2 separate regions of the Homo sapiens genome follow, and region 1 is linked to region 2. The links are contacts of gene promoters, found by promoter capture Hi-C in blood cells and fetal thymus (Javierre and others, 2016). All regions are on one chromosome and are shown on one strand. The core of a region is centred on a gene start or on the middle of the fragment in contact, and the rest is flanking DNA. Distances in the headings are between cores, read along the strand shown.

The links. The method cuts DNA at HindIII sites, captures the fragments that hold promoters and counts their contacts. A CHiCAGO score of 5 or more calls a contact.
Region 1: a fragment that was not itself captured here is called in contact with the fragment with the promoter of LRRC59 in region 2 in 1 of 17 cell types (erythroblasts); the score reaches 6.6 in erythroblasts.

The regions. Positions count from the first base shown.
Region 1 is chr17:50,720,430-50,726,746 of GRCh38, forward strand. The region is part of intron 1 of LUC7L3 (LUC7 like 3 pre-mRNA splicing factor); the gene reads left to right. Among named protein-coding and RNA genes, the nearest start is that of LUC7L3, 4.0 kb to the left of the region's middle. RefSeq lists an enhancer at 4,507-5,006. The HindIII fragment of the contact is 2,482 bases long and covers 2,999-5,480 here.
Region 2 is chr17:50,395,239-50,401,823 of GRCh38, forward strand. It overlaps LRRC59 (leucine rich repeat containing 59), which reads right to left and starts at 2,285. Exons shown (of 7, transcript NM_018509.4): 1 at 1,975-2,285. The coding sequence starts at 2,079. LRRC59-AS1 (LRRC59 antisense RNA 1) reads left to right here. Exons shown (of 2, transcript NR_199069.1): 2 at 1,978-3,319. RefSeq lists a silencer at 2,262-2,331. The HindIII fragment of the contact is 2,181 bases long and covers 1,383-3,563 here.

The DNA of each region.
Region 1 (6,317 bases), core at 2,990-5,489, 330 kb after region 2:
GCTCTTAGCCCGGGGAGTAAAGGTAAATATTATAACCCCAGTTTCACTGGTGAGACTTAAAAAGGCTCACCCAAAGTCTTGGCAACTGAGGAAACTAATCTTTGTAGTTCTGTTAGCTTTCCACAATCCTATGAAACTGGTTCTCTGCACCTACTGTAGCATTTCAAGTGTTTTGATCTAGTTTTGAACATGCAGTGTAATGTTTACTTTAGGTCTTATCTGGAGAATAGATACAGAATTTAATTTTACTTTGAGGTTATAATCTAACATGCTAATTTTAAAACAATTGCTAATCAAAATAGGAAGGAATAGTTCAGGTAATGCATGCTTCTTTAGAAAACTGTTTTCTTACTCTTTTTAAACGTAGGCTTTGGTTAAGGTAAAATTTCTTTTTTGCAGTGTAGGAAAGCAAGTTGGTGCTAGATGACTCCTTTTAGGACTTTAAGAAAGAGTAAGTTTGGCTCAAGTTGTGTTGGGGTGCTAACTGATTCCAAAGTAGTATGAAACATTCTTAGAGTAGAATTTATTGTTTTTAAGAGGTGGGTTTTTTGTTTTTAACATTTAGGCTCCCCATCCCCCCGACCATTTGTCACAATAGGAGACTAAGGAACTGCTTACCTTGACCATCTTTCTTTTGTAGGCATCTTTGTTATAGCGAAGTAACTTTTTTTTTTTTTAACTACCTGACTCTGTAACCTTTCAGTCTAAACTTTGCAAATGTGTTAGGAATAACGCTCAAAATCCTAAGTAAGGTAAAAAACCAAAACATTATGGCGATTTGGCTTATGTTCAATAGGTTATTTGTATATTTTGAATTCAAGAGAAAAATGCTTTCCATTGCACTCCTTATCAGTTGGAACAGCCTTGTATCTCTGCACCCTTGACTTTGAACACGTTTTAGAGAAACTGTTTTCTTTCCCGGGGTAATTTGTTGCCACATTGCATTGTATGTGATGGGTTTATGACTCTTCAATGATGAGGCCCTCAGAATAGCAATTTAGGTTTTATGTCATCTCAGCCGTAATCTGCTTTGCTTTCAGTTTTAGTACTTTTCACTAATTTTAACTTTCAGTGTTTATTACTAAAGTATTTAATGCCTTAATGACAGATTGCACTTCACTCTAGATTGAAGGATTTCAAGTCAGTTACTGGCATTTCAGATTGATATCTGCAGGGAAAATGTTGGTAGTGTTGAGCAAAAACAAAGCACATGGTCTCATCTAAATAGGTGGAATTATTGTATAATGAAGCTGGGGAAGCTGTTGATATCGTTTCCGGGTCATCTGCATATTCTTGTACTGTTGGCTGTTAGTGCTAAACCTGCAGGGATGGGCAAACCCATTATATGCTGAAAAGGAGTCACCTTTTCTATAGCCTAATATTTTAACATATTTTTGCATTCCTGTTCTATCTGGAAATTTTTCTTGGCCATACTTGCATTAAATGGAAGAAGCCATTTCAGCTGGATGGGGCCCTTGTTTTTTTTTTTGGAATAGAGATAAATACCAAAATAAGGAAAGGAAGCAACCATTAATTAAAAGACAGTTGCCGTGGCATCTGTAAGTATTTAACAGTCAAAATGCTAACTTTACCTAGTATTAAAGGTAGTCCCTAGATAGCTGTATTTGACCTGTGGAATTTGTTTTAAATGCATATTTCTGTACTTCAACCCCTTCAACTCCCCTTCCCAGAGAGTCAGATTCTGTCTGTCTTGGGGAAGGGTCCCAGTATCTGCATTTTTTATGGCTCCTCTTATGCATTCTTTTTTTTTTTTTTTTTTTTTTTTGAGACGGCGTCTTGCTCTGTCTCCCAGGCTGGAGTGCAATGGCGTGATTTTGGCTCATTGCACCCTCCGCCTCCCGGGTTCAAGCGATTCTCCTGCTTCAGCCTCCCCAGTAGCTGGAACTACAGGCGCCCTCCACCACGCCCAGCTAATTTTTATATTTTTAATAGAGATGGGGTTTCACCATGTTGGCCAGGATGGTCTCGATCTATTGACCTCGTGATCTGCCCGCCTCGGCCTCCCAAAGTGCTGGGATTACAGGCGCGAGCCACCGCGCCCGGCCGGCTCCTCTTATGCATTCTAAAGTTTGTGACCTACTGTTTCCTGACCCATCCTGATTAGTCCTGGGCTTTTAATTGTGCATATCTGCACAATTAAATCTTAATTGGTATTAATTTGGTAGTAGATTCTAATACTGTACTTTTTTCTCCTTTTCATGATGGGTAATAAGTGAGCAAGCAGCACTTGCGAAGCGCAGTTTCAAGTGAAGGATGCATCTGTGATGCAAAATCATCGACCATTTATTTGTAATGGTGTGTATGTAACCTTCACCAAGGTATTTTACTGGGGCTAGTGCTTTTACAGGCATTTCCAACTTTGTAGATTGCTACCTCTGGATCTGAGAAACTGCAGCTAAAGTGAAGTCGGCTTTAATACTGTTTCATGGATTCATTGGTACACCCTCCCACCGTGTTTATTTGTATTTTGCAATTGTTTGAGATTATTGTTTTGGTTTTTTGCACTAAGCAATTGCTTGGTTAATCCTAAACAACCACAGTGATGAGGAAAGCATGTGATTGTAACTAACTGCCTAGGGTGAGTACCTTTCAGTGAGGGTTTGATTTCAGTGTTAGCCAGAGAAGGCACTAGTAGCCATATTATTAGAAGATTGTAGTAAATTGTAAAGTCTGATCGGGAGTTTTGTTATTTTTTATGTAGCAAGACAGAAATTTTGTAGTTCAAATTGAGGTTTTTATATTCTAGATCTCAACCTGAAAATGAAATTACTTAATCATTAACACTGATTCTAATATCTGAAATGAGTTTTCTTCCATTTATCAAACTCAAGCCTACCCTTCCTTCCATGAAGGTTTAACATGAAGGTTTAATAATTTATGAAGGAAATTGAACTATGTTCTTTTCTAAAATCTTTGGAATGTTAGCAGATACTGTCATTGACACTGAAAAGTTGTTTAGAAAAGGAAAAATAGCTAAAGCTTCTGTCCACATTTTTTACTTGTATACTTTTTCTTTTTGCTTTAAAAATGTTCAGAATTTGGGAGCAAAAATTGAAAGCAAAAAACTAGTAATTATAATGCATGATGGCATCTATTAATATGTATTTTACTAGTTTTCATTCAGAGTCACCAAAATGTTCATAGTAACTTACTATGTTACTATGGAGTAAGATAGAAAAGCATTTTCTACCCTGCTCCCTGCCCCCCCCCCTTTTTTTTTTTGAGACAGAGTCTAGCTCTGTCACCCAGGCTGGAGTGTAGTGGCATGATCTTGGCTCACTGCAACCTCCACCTCCTGGCCTCAGCGTCCCGAGTAATTGGGATTGCAGGTGTGGGCCACCACGCCCGGCTAATTTTTGTATTTTTAGTCGACAGGGTTTTGCCATATTGGCCAGGCTGGTCTTGAACTCCTGACCTCAAGTGATCGGTCCGCCTCAGTCTCCCAAAGTGCTGAGGTTACAGGCGTGAGCCACTGCGCCCGGCTGGCATTTCCTACCTTACTCCATAGTAAAATAGTAAGTGTTGGCTTCTCAGAATTGCCAGCAGTCCATGTGTTATATGTGTATGTAATTGCTATTTGCTTTTCTTCCCAAAACATACAGAATTAGAGTGAATAGTATAATAAATTGAACTCCCCATGTACCCATGCCCAATTTAGCAATATTAGCACATAGTCAATATTATTTCCTCTGTATCCCTTCCATTATTTTGAAGCAATTCTGTTATTGTCAACCTTAAAGCGGTCATTGTATATCTGTAAAATACAAGGACTTTAAAAAAAAAACATAGCCGACCGGGCATGGTGGGTCACCTGTAATCTCAACATTGGGAGGCCAAGGCAGGCAGATCACTTGAGGCCAGGAGTTCGAGACCAGCCTGGCCAACATGGTGAAACCCTGTCTCTAATAAAAAATAAAAAAATTAGCTGGGCGTAGTGGTGCATTCCTGTAATCCCAGCTACTCTGGAGGTTGAGGCAGGAGGATCCTTTCAACCCAGGAGGCAGAGGTTGCAGTGAGCCGAGATGGTGCCACCACAGTCCAGCCTGGGCAACAGAGTGACACTCTGTCTCAAAAAAAAAATAGAATAAAATAACCACAATACCATAATCACTGAAAATTATAGTAAGGTATTTCGTAAATCTTTGGTTGCTTTAGGAAAATTGTGTGTGTGTGTGTGTGTGTGTGTGTGTGTGTGTCATTATATATGTTATTAGCCTTGATTTCCTCACAAAAGGAGAAGGTAGCTTAAGTTTGTAAATTTGACTTTTTTGCTAATACAGTTCTTCGTTTTATGAAATATTTTCTCTTTTTTTTTTTTTTTTTACCCCCGAGATGGAGTCTTGCTCTGTTGCCCAGGTTGGAGTGCAGTGGTGTGATCTCAGCTCACTGCAACCTCCACCTCCCGGGTTCAAGCGATTCTCCTGCCTCAGCCTCCAGAGTAGGTGGAATTACAGGTGCATGCCACCATGCCTGACTAATTTTTGTGTTGTTGTAGAGATGGGGTTTCACCATGTTTGCCGGGCTGGTCTTGAACTTTTGACAACAAGTGATCCTCCCTCGGCCTCCCAAAGTGCTGGGATTACAGGGGTGAGCCACCATGCCCAGCCTTTCTCTTCATTTCTTATAGTAAGTTAGGAAAATTGTTGTATTCATTTATCCAACAAAAATGTATTGCTCGGCTGGGAGCGGTGGCTCACGCCTGTAATCCTAGCACTTTGCGAGGCTGAGGCGGGTGGATCACCTGAGCTCAGGAGTTTGAGACCAGCCTGGCCAACATGGCGAAACCCTGTCTCTACTAAAAATACAAAAATTAGCCAGGTGTGGTGGCGCACGCCTGTAATCCCAGCTACTCGGGAGGCTGAGGAAGGAGAATCGCTTGAACCCGGGAGGTGGAGGTTGCAGTGAGCCGAGATCACGCCACTGCATTCCAGCCTGCGTGACAGGAGCAAGACTCCATTTCAAAAAAAAAATTAAAAGTATTGCTCTTAGGTAGATAACAGCAGGATAGTACAGATACAGCACTTGGTCCTAAAGAGCCATCATGTATTGGTGACAGTAAATGCACTTTTTTTTTCCAATGGGGATTATTCCAATTGAATGTAAACGCATTTCCATAACAGAATATGATAAATCCTACCATTGGGAAAAGTAAAATTGACCCTTGAACAACACGGGTTTGAGTTGAGTGTGTCCATTTATACGTGGAGTTTTTTCAATAAATATATTGGAACATTTTTTGGAGATTTGCAACAATTTGAAAAAACTTGAAGACGAATCACATAGCTTAGAAATATTTTTAAAATTTAAGAAAAGATAAGTACATCACAAATACATAAAATAGATGTATATACTAGTTTATCATTTTCCTACCACAAAATACATACGAATCATAAAAAGTTAAACTTTATAAAAACTTATGCACACAGTACATGGTGCCACTAGCAGTCCAGAGAAAGTAAAGCTTGAGTAATAACTGCATAAAATTAACTATAGTACATACTGTAATACTGTAATAATTTTGTAGCCACCTGTTGCTATTACAGTGAGCTCAAGTGTTGCCAGGCTCCACTTAAAATGCCCTATGACCTGTGACTCTTGATAATCTCTGCATGAGCAGTTGGTGTCTAAAGTAAATTGCATATCACAGTAAAAAATTATCCCTTGGTTCTTGTGTATTTTCATCATTGTTTATTGCAATACCGTATAAACTTGTTGTTTTGCTTTTTGTTGTTGTTGTTTTTGAGACAGTCTTGCTCTGTCGCCCAGGCTGGAGTGCAGTGGTGCCATCTCGGCTCACTGCAACCTCTGCTTCCCAGGTTCAAGCAGTTCTCATACCTCAGCCTCCCAGGTAGCTGGGATTACAGCCGTGTACCACCATGTCTGGCTAAGTTTTGTATTTTTAGTAGAGATGGGGTTTTGTCATGTTGGCCAGGCTGGGCTCGAACTCCTGGCCTTAAGTGATCCGCCCACCTTGGCCTCCCAAAGTGCTGGGATTAGAGGTGTAAGCCACAGCGCCTGGCCTATGTACAATACCATGACCTTTGAATAACGCCCTGAGACCCATACGAAGTGCAGCTAGTGACATTGGAAGTGCTCCGAAGAAGCAGAAAAGTCATGACAGTACAAGAAGTTAAATTGCTTGATATGTACGATAGACTGAGATCTGCACCTGGGGTTGCTGGCATTTGAGACAATTCATCTTTTGTATACAGATGACCTAAACTTAGGGTATTGATAAATACAGCACTGTAAATGTGTTTTCACATTTTTTTCTCTAGCTTACTTATAGTTATTTT
Region 2 (6,585 bases), core at 1,035-3,534:
ACTCACACCTGTAGTCTCATAGTCTCAGCTACTCAGAAAGCTGAGACAGGAGGATCGCTTGAGCCCAGGAGTTCAGGAGTTTGAGGCCGGCCTGCACAACACAGTGAGACCCCATCTCAAAAAAAAAAAAAAAGAAAGGAAGGCAGGCAGGCAGGCAGGCAAGCAAAATTTAGATTCTTAGACATTATTCCTAGCACTTTAAAAATAAATATTACCCAGCGTCCCTCTTATTAGGTTTCAGGGCAGGGACAGTGTCTAATAAAGCTTTGCAATTTCCATATTCCCCAGTTCAGGCCCTTCCTCAGAACAGGTACTCAATATCCATACATGTTGCCTGAATCATGACTGATCGAGTAAGTAGCGGAGTGAATGACAGAGTGAAAAAACAAGGCCCTGCCGGGTGCGGTGGCTCACGCCTGTAATCCCACCACTTTGGGAGGCTGAGGCAGGCAATCACCTGAAGTCAGGAGTTCGAGACCAGCCTGACCAACACGGAGAAACCCTGTCTCTACTAAAAATAGAAAATTAGCCAGGCATGGTGGCACACGCTTGTAATCCCAGCTACTCGGGAGGCTGAGGCAGGAGAATCGCTTGAACCCGGGAGGCAGAGGTTTCAGTGAGCCGAGATCACTCCTGGGCAACAACAGCAAAACTCCATCATCCAAAAAAAAAAAAGGCCCTCACAGCCCATCTCTATTTTCCCATGGTGTCCAGGCTGGACAAGCTCAGCAAAACTTTCTCCCTAAGGTTAATGCTGGACTGTTCAGATGCCTGGAGTATATGGTTTCAGAGAGCAGTCCTAGGGCAGGGTGAAATAAGGCTGGCCATCTATCTTCCTGGGGTAGAAAAGGAGGCATATATTCAGTTAAGGATCCTCTGGCAACCTGCACTTTCTGTCACAAAGTCGTAAAAGTGAAGTTTGACCACCTAAAAAAGTTTTAAATACTACAGCGGGAAAAACACAACAACAGCTACAAGTATCAGTATTTGCTCCTTCCAAGCATTTTCCATTACAATGGTATTTAACCTCCCAATAAGCGTATGAGATGGAAACTATTATCACCATTGTATAGATGAGGAGATCTAGGCATAAAGGCTAACTAGCTTGCCAAGGGCACTCGGCTATTAAGCAATGGAGCTGGGAGGAGCTAGGAACCCGGTTCTAACCACTGTAATACCCGTCCACGGTGGAAGAAAGACTGGGCCCAGCGCCCAAGGCAAATGTAATTTATCAACGGCAGAAAGCAAAGTGTGGGTCACCCAAAGTGAGTCTAGTAGGGCGTTGGCGCGGGTGGGAGGGGGAACGGAGTGGGAAAAGGAGGGATGTGGGAACTAGCTCCACGCTGACAAAACTAGATGCCTGCTATCTCTCTGGAGCTGTAAGCTTCAGTTTACAGGGGAAAGGTTGGGGGAGAGAGGGGCGAAAGGGACTCCCGCCAGTTTCAGCGGAATTCAGATGACAGTTTACCAGCCAAGCTGGGGGGAGACTTTACTTTCTTCGAGTTAGGCTGCCTCAGGGCTCGGGCAGCCAGCTGGAATTGCCAGCTTCCTAGAAGAGCCAGGTTCTGGGCCACACCCAGGTCTACCAGGAGGCCTACTCCCCTGGAACAAGTCACTCATTCATTCTCGAATACATCCAGTAACTGCTCCGTGTGCTCCTACTCAGAGTCGGGCACGGAGGTGGGCGCTGTGAAAGCCCCGCAAAGGTGACAGATTCGCTTCTTAGCCTGTAAAAAGCCTAGGGCCAGAGAAGCAGATCTTCCCTATGTTCTGGAACTGCGCCAAAGTGACACGTGTACATCCCGGGAAGAACCTTGGGCTGGACGCGGCCTCCTAGGGGACTTAGTCCCACCACCCCGCTTCTTTTTAAAGAAAAGGAAACTGATGCTTTTAGAGAAGAGGAAAGTAAGTGGCCCACGTAGGGGCCAGCGCCCGGCGAAGGTGGGCGCCTGGGCCTCGCGGGACGATACTGACCAGCTCCTTCACCGGGACCTCATTCAGGTCGCTGAGGCTCAGGTCCAGTTCGTTGCCGTCCAGCTTGTCGCGGAGGTTCCCGCCCTTGCTACCGGCCTTGGTCATGGTAACGCCGGCTGAGCGGGCCCCGGCTCCGGGGTTCCGGCGGGTGAAAGGAGCTGAAATGTCGCTTGTCAGTTCAGCGGCCCCCCACCCAAACGACGACGCCTGAGCCCTCCGTCGCCGCCGATGCGAGACCGCCTCCGCCCGCTGGCCGCACTCCGAGCCTCGCGCCTAGCTCCCACCGGTGCCGCGACGACGACCACTTCCGTGTCCACGTCACCTTCCGCGACCACTGAGATGGGCTGGGCCAGAGCGGCCCGAGCGTGTGCGGGCACGCCCCCTGGTGCCCAGGGTGATGCACTGCACGTCGCCGCCGCCGGAGGGGTGGGGTTGGAGGCTGCGAGCTCGGTTCACGTTCACCCGTGGCCCGCGGGCATTATTGCTGGCAGTGCCACGAGGCGAAAGGGCACGGACTGGGCGCCAGAAGACTGGGTTGACATCCAATACTGACCTCATCAGATCACCCCAATCCCCCTGATTAGGAGCAGAAGCTGGGTGTCCTCTAAAACTGCTCCCTGTCCTCTACTTAACCCCCGAATAACCATCATGGGGAAAACTCTTCTTCCTGAATTTCTCCTCTCTCCTCCCCACTCACTGCCTCAGTGCTTGTCTCTGTCCTTCCATCCACTTTCACCCAGCTCCCCGGTGATCTTTCTAAAAATCTGGCCAAGTCTCTCCCCTACGTAAAACCCTTCAAACTTGCAGCTACCTCTAGGATACGGACCACTTTCCTTTGGAAGCTGGGTCCTGCCTGCTTTCGCAGCTTCCTCACACGCTCCAGTCCCTGCCTGGCCTAGATGCTGTGTAGATTTCCAGGAGGTGGCTCCCACGTCTGGCCCTCCCCAGCGATGGCCCTCCCTCCCCCCCACTCACCTCTGTCTAGCTAATTCCTTAGTCCTTCAGGAAATCTCCCCTGAACACCGTGAATGCCAGACTGAGTTAGCGCCCCCCCCAACCAACTTAGGTCCCTGTTTGCTACTTTATCATCAGAGACAGTAGAGCTTGATGGCCAAGTGGGACCTCTGGCACTAATACCTATCCACTGGGTATTCATCCTGGCTCTGCCACTTGCTACTTATAAAACCGTAGACAATCACCAGGCTTCAGTCTTATCTATGAATCAATCTATGAGACATGTAGCTAACAGAGGTTGGGGAGAACTGAAGGAGTAAAACACACCAAGAGCTTACAGCAGTCACTGGCACTTAGTAAGTACCCAATAAATATTAGCTACAATTCATGATCCACCTTGTATTATACTCATCTTTATGTGTCTGTCCTTCATTCTGGACTGTGAGGACAGGGATTTTTGTCTTAATCATCTTCGTATGCCCAGAGTTGGCATACCCTGATGCAGGGTAGCTACTCATTCAGATGTCTGTTGAATAAATGAATAGATGGATGGATGAATGAATGAATGAATGAAGGAAGGAAGCACTTTACCCACTCCAAACCTCAGTTTACTCATTTTGAAATAGGGATATTAAAGCTTATCTCAGAGGGGCCGAGCAGGATAGCTCACACCTGTAATCCCAATACTTGGGAGGCCAAGATGAGAGGATTATTTGAGGCTAGGAGTTCAAAACCAGTCTGGGCAACATAGCAAGACCCCATCTCTAAAAAAATAAAAAATAAAAAATCTTGTCTCAGAGGGAAACTATGAACACCAAATAAAGTAAGTGCAATTGTTACGGGGGGTGGGTGGCAGGGGTCCTTGTTCTTAGAACTCCCAAGATGGTGGCGGGCCACTTCCAAGATGGCGGCAAGCCTCTTGTTCTCTGACCTGGGTTTCTTGGCCTCACGCATTCCAAGGAATGGAATCTTGGGCCATGCAATGAGTGTTATAGCTCTATTCAGCTCAATTAGGACAAATCCAGGCACTTAGCCACGCAGGAACAATGGCAAGCCTTTAGCCTGATCCAGAGCAGCAATGGGCGCCTCACTGGATCGGGAGCCCAGCAGACACCCTGCCAGATCCAGAGGGGTGGAAGTCAGCAGCGGGTCTGCGACAGCAGCAAACAGCAGTAGTGGACGGTAAGGAAAAGCTCAGCTCAAGCCGTAACAAACACGGACCAGAAAAGTGTGCAGTTGCAAGATTTAATAGAGTGAAAACAGAGCTCCCATAAAATGGCAGGGGACCCAAAGGGGGTTGCTGTTGCCGGCTCGAATGCCTGGGTTTATATCCCGATCATTGTCCCTCCTCCTGTGCTCTCAGGCGATAGATGATTGGCTATTTCTTTACCTCCTGTTTTTGCTTAATTAGCATTTCAGTGAGCTCTCTTTACTACCTGATTGATCAGGTGCGAGCTAAGTTGCAAGCCCCATGTTTAAAGGTGGATGCGGTCACCTTCCCAGCTAGGCTTAGGGATTCTTAGTTGGCTTAGGAAATCCAGCTAGTCCTGTCTCTCAGTGCCCCCCTCAACAGGAAAACCCAAGTGCTGTTGGGGAGGTTGGCCGATGACCGCTCTAACTGCTTCCTGCTAAATTGGGGCATAGTAGGGGTTGTGCAGTTGAGATTTCCTCGGGAGGGTTGCTTTTGATGTCACCAACATCACAGCATGGGCTAGCAGACTGGTCCAGGGGTCCACGGTAGATCTTAGTCATGGACCGCATCTGGGGCTCCATTTAAAGAACCATTTGTAGTTTTACAGCTTCGATTCTGGAACAGACAAACTTAACAAGGAGGTTAAAGATACAGGGATTGAAATGTATGGCCTGTAGTGTAGGGGATTATTTCTTTGGCACACTTCACAGGCCCTGACTATCTACTTGATAGTTTTGAAAAGGCCTGTCTAGTAAATAATAATTTGGCCATCTGATGGGTGCTATCAATGCCTAAGTGAAAGGTTTGGTGAAGGGTTTTAAGCAATTTCCATTGGTTAGCTGCAGGCAAAAGTATTTTTCCTTCTCCAGTGGCTAGTCATCCTGAGGGGAGGAAACTATGTCCTCGTCAGGTTCCCCATTCTATTTCTCCTGCTGAGTACTGGGGCTTGGTTTCCTGGAGGGGATTACCCCATACTAGGGGTTCTTCTATAAGCATTTCTAATGGAGGGTCCCGCCTTGCGGCTCTTTTGGCTTCAATATCCACTTGGCGGTTCCCTTCTATTTCTTCTTTCCTTTCCTTTCCTTTCTGATGACCCCGGTAGTGTAAGACTGCCACCTCTTTAGGTGTCTATACAGCCAATAATAATCTCCTGATGGCTTCCTGATGTTTGATAGGTGTTCCCTTGGAAGTTAGGAATTCACTTTCTCTCCATATTGCTGCATGGGCACGGAGGACTAGGTAAGCATACTTTGAGTCTGTATATATATTTACCCTTTTCCCTTCTCCTAATTCTAGTGTATAATGGCCCCTGCTTTTGCTAGAATGTCTCTCCCTAACAAGGGAGTGGGGCTTTCAGGCATAATTAGAAAAGCATGTGAAAAGAGTAAGTTCCCCAGTCACACCTTAGTGGCTGGGAGAAGTATCTAGTGACTGGCTGTCCTAGGACCCCTCGGATAGTGACAGATCTGGAGGACAGTTGTCCGGGACAGGAGAGTAAGACTGAGAAGGCCACGCCAGTTTCCAGGAGACAGTTAACCTCCTGGCCCTCAATGGTCAAGCATACCCAGGGCTCTGTGAGGGTGATGGCATGGGCTGGCGCTTGCCTCAGGCACCCTCAGTCCTGCTGCTGGATCATCTGGTCAGTGGCTTCTGACTCAGAGGACCTTCGTCCCATGGGGCAGTGGGCCTTCCAGTGATTCCCTTGACATAAGGGGCATCGACAAGGGGTGGCTTATTTCTATTTGGACAATCTTTTTTTTTTTTTTTTTTTTTTTTGAGACAGAGTCTCACTCTTTTGCCTAGGCTGGAGTGCAGTGGCGTGATCTCGGCCCACTGCAAGCTCCGCCTCCTGGGTTCACGCCATTCTCTTGCCTCAGCCTCCTGAGTAGCTGGGACTACAGGCACCCACCACCGCGCCCAGCTAATTTTTTGTATTTTTAGTAGAGATGGAGTTTCACCGTGTTAGCCAGGATGGTCTCGATCTCCTGACCTCGTGATCTGCCCGCCTCGGCCTCCCAAAGTGCTGGGATTACAGGCGTGAGCCACCGCGCCCGGCCTTGGACAATCTTTTTTAAAGTGTCCTTGCAGGCCGCACTGGAAGCAAGCCCTATTAGGCATTCGATTTGCTCAGCCTTTCCATGTTCCAGAGCCTCCAAGGTCCGCTTGCCTGAGGACCATGACTAAAGCGGTGGCCTTTTTCTTATCTCATTTGTCCTGTTCTGCCTGTTCCTCCTTATCTCTATTATAAAAAAACCGAAGTTGCCAAGTTCAATAGGGTTTCTAAATTTTGCTCCGGGCCTAAGGTGGACTTCCGAAGTTTTTTTTTTAATGTCTGCAGCTGACTGAGTGATAAACTTATCAAGATTAGTTGGCCTTCAATAGAATCAGGTGACAGAGAGGTATGCTTCCTCAATGCCTCCCTTAGTCTCTCCAGAAAGGCAGTAGGATTTTCTTCCTTTCCCTGT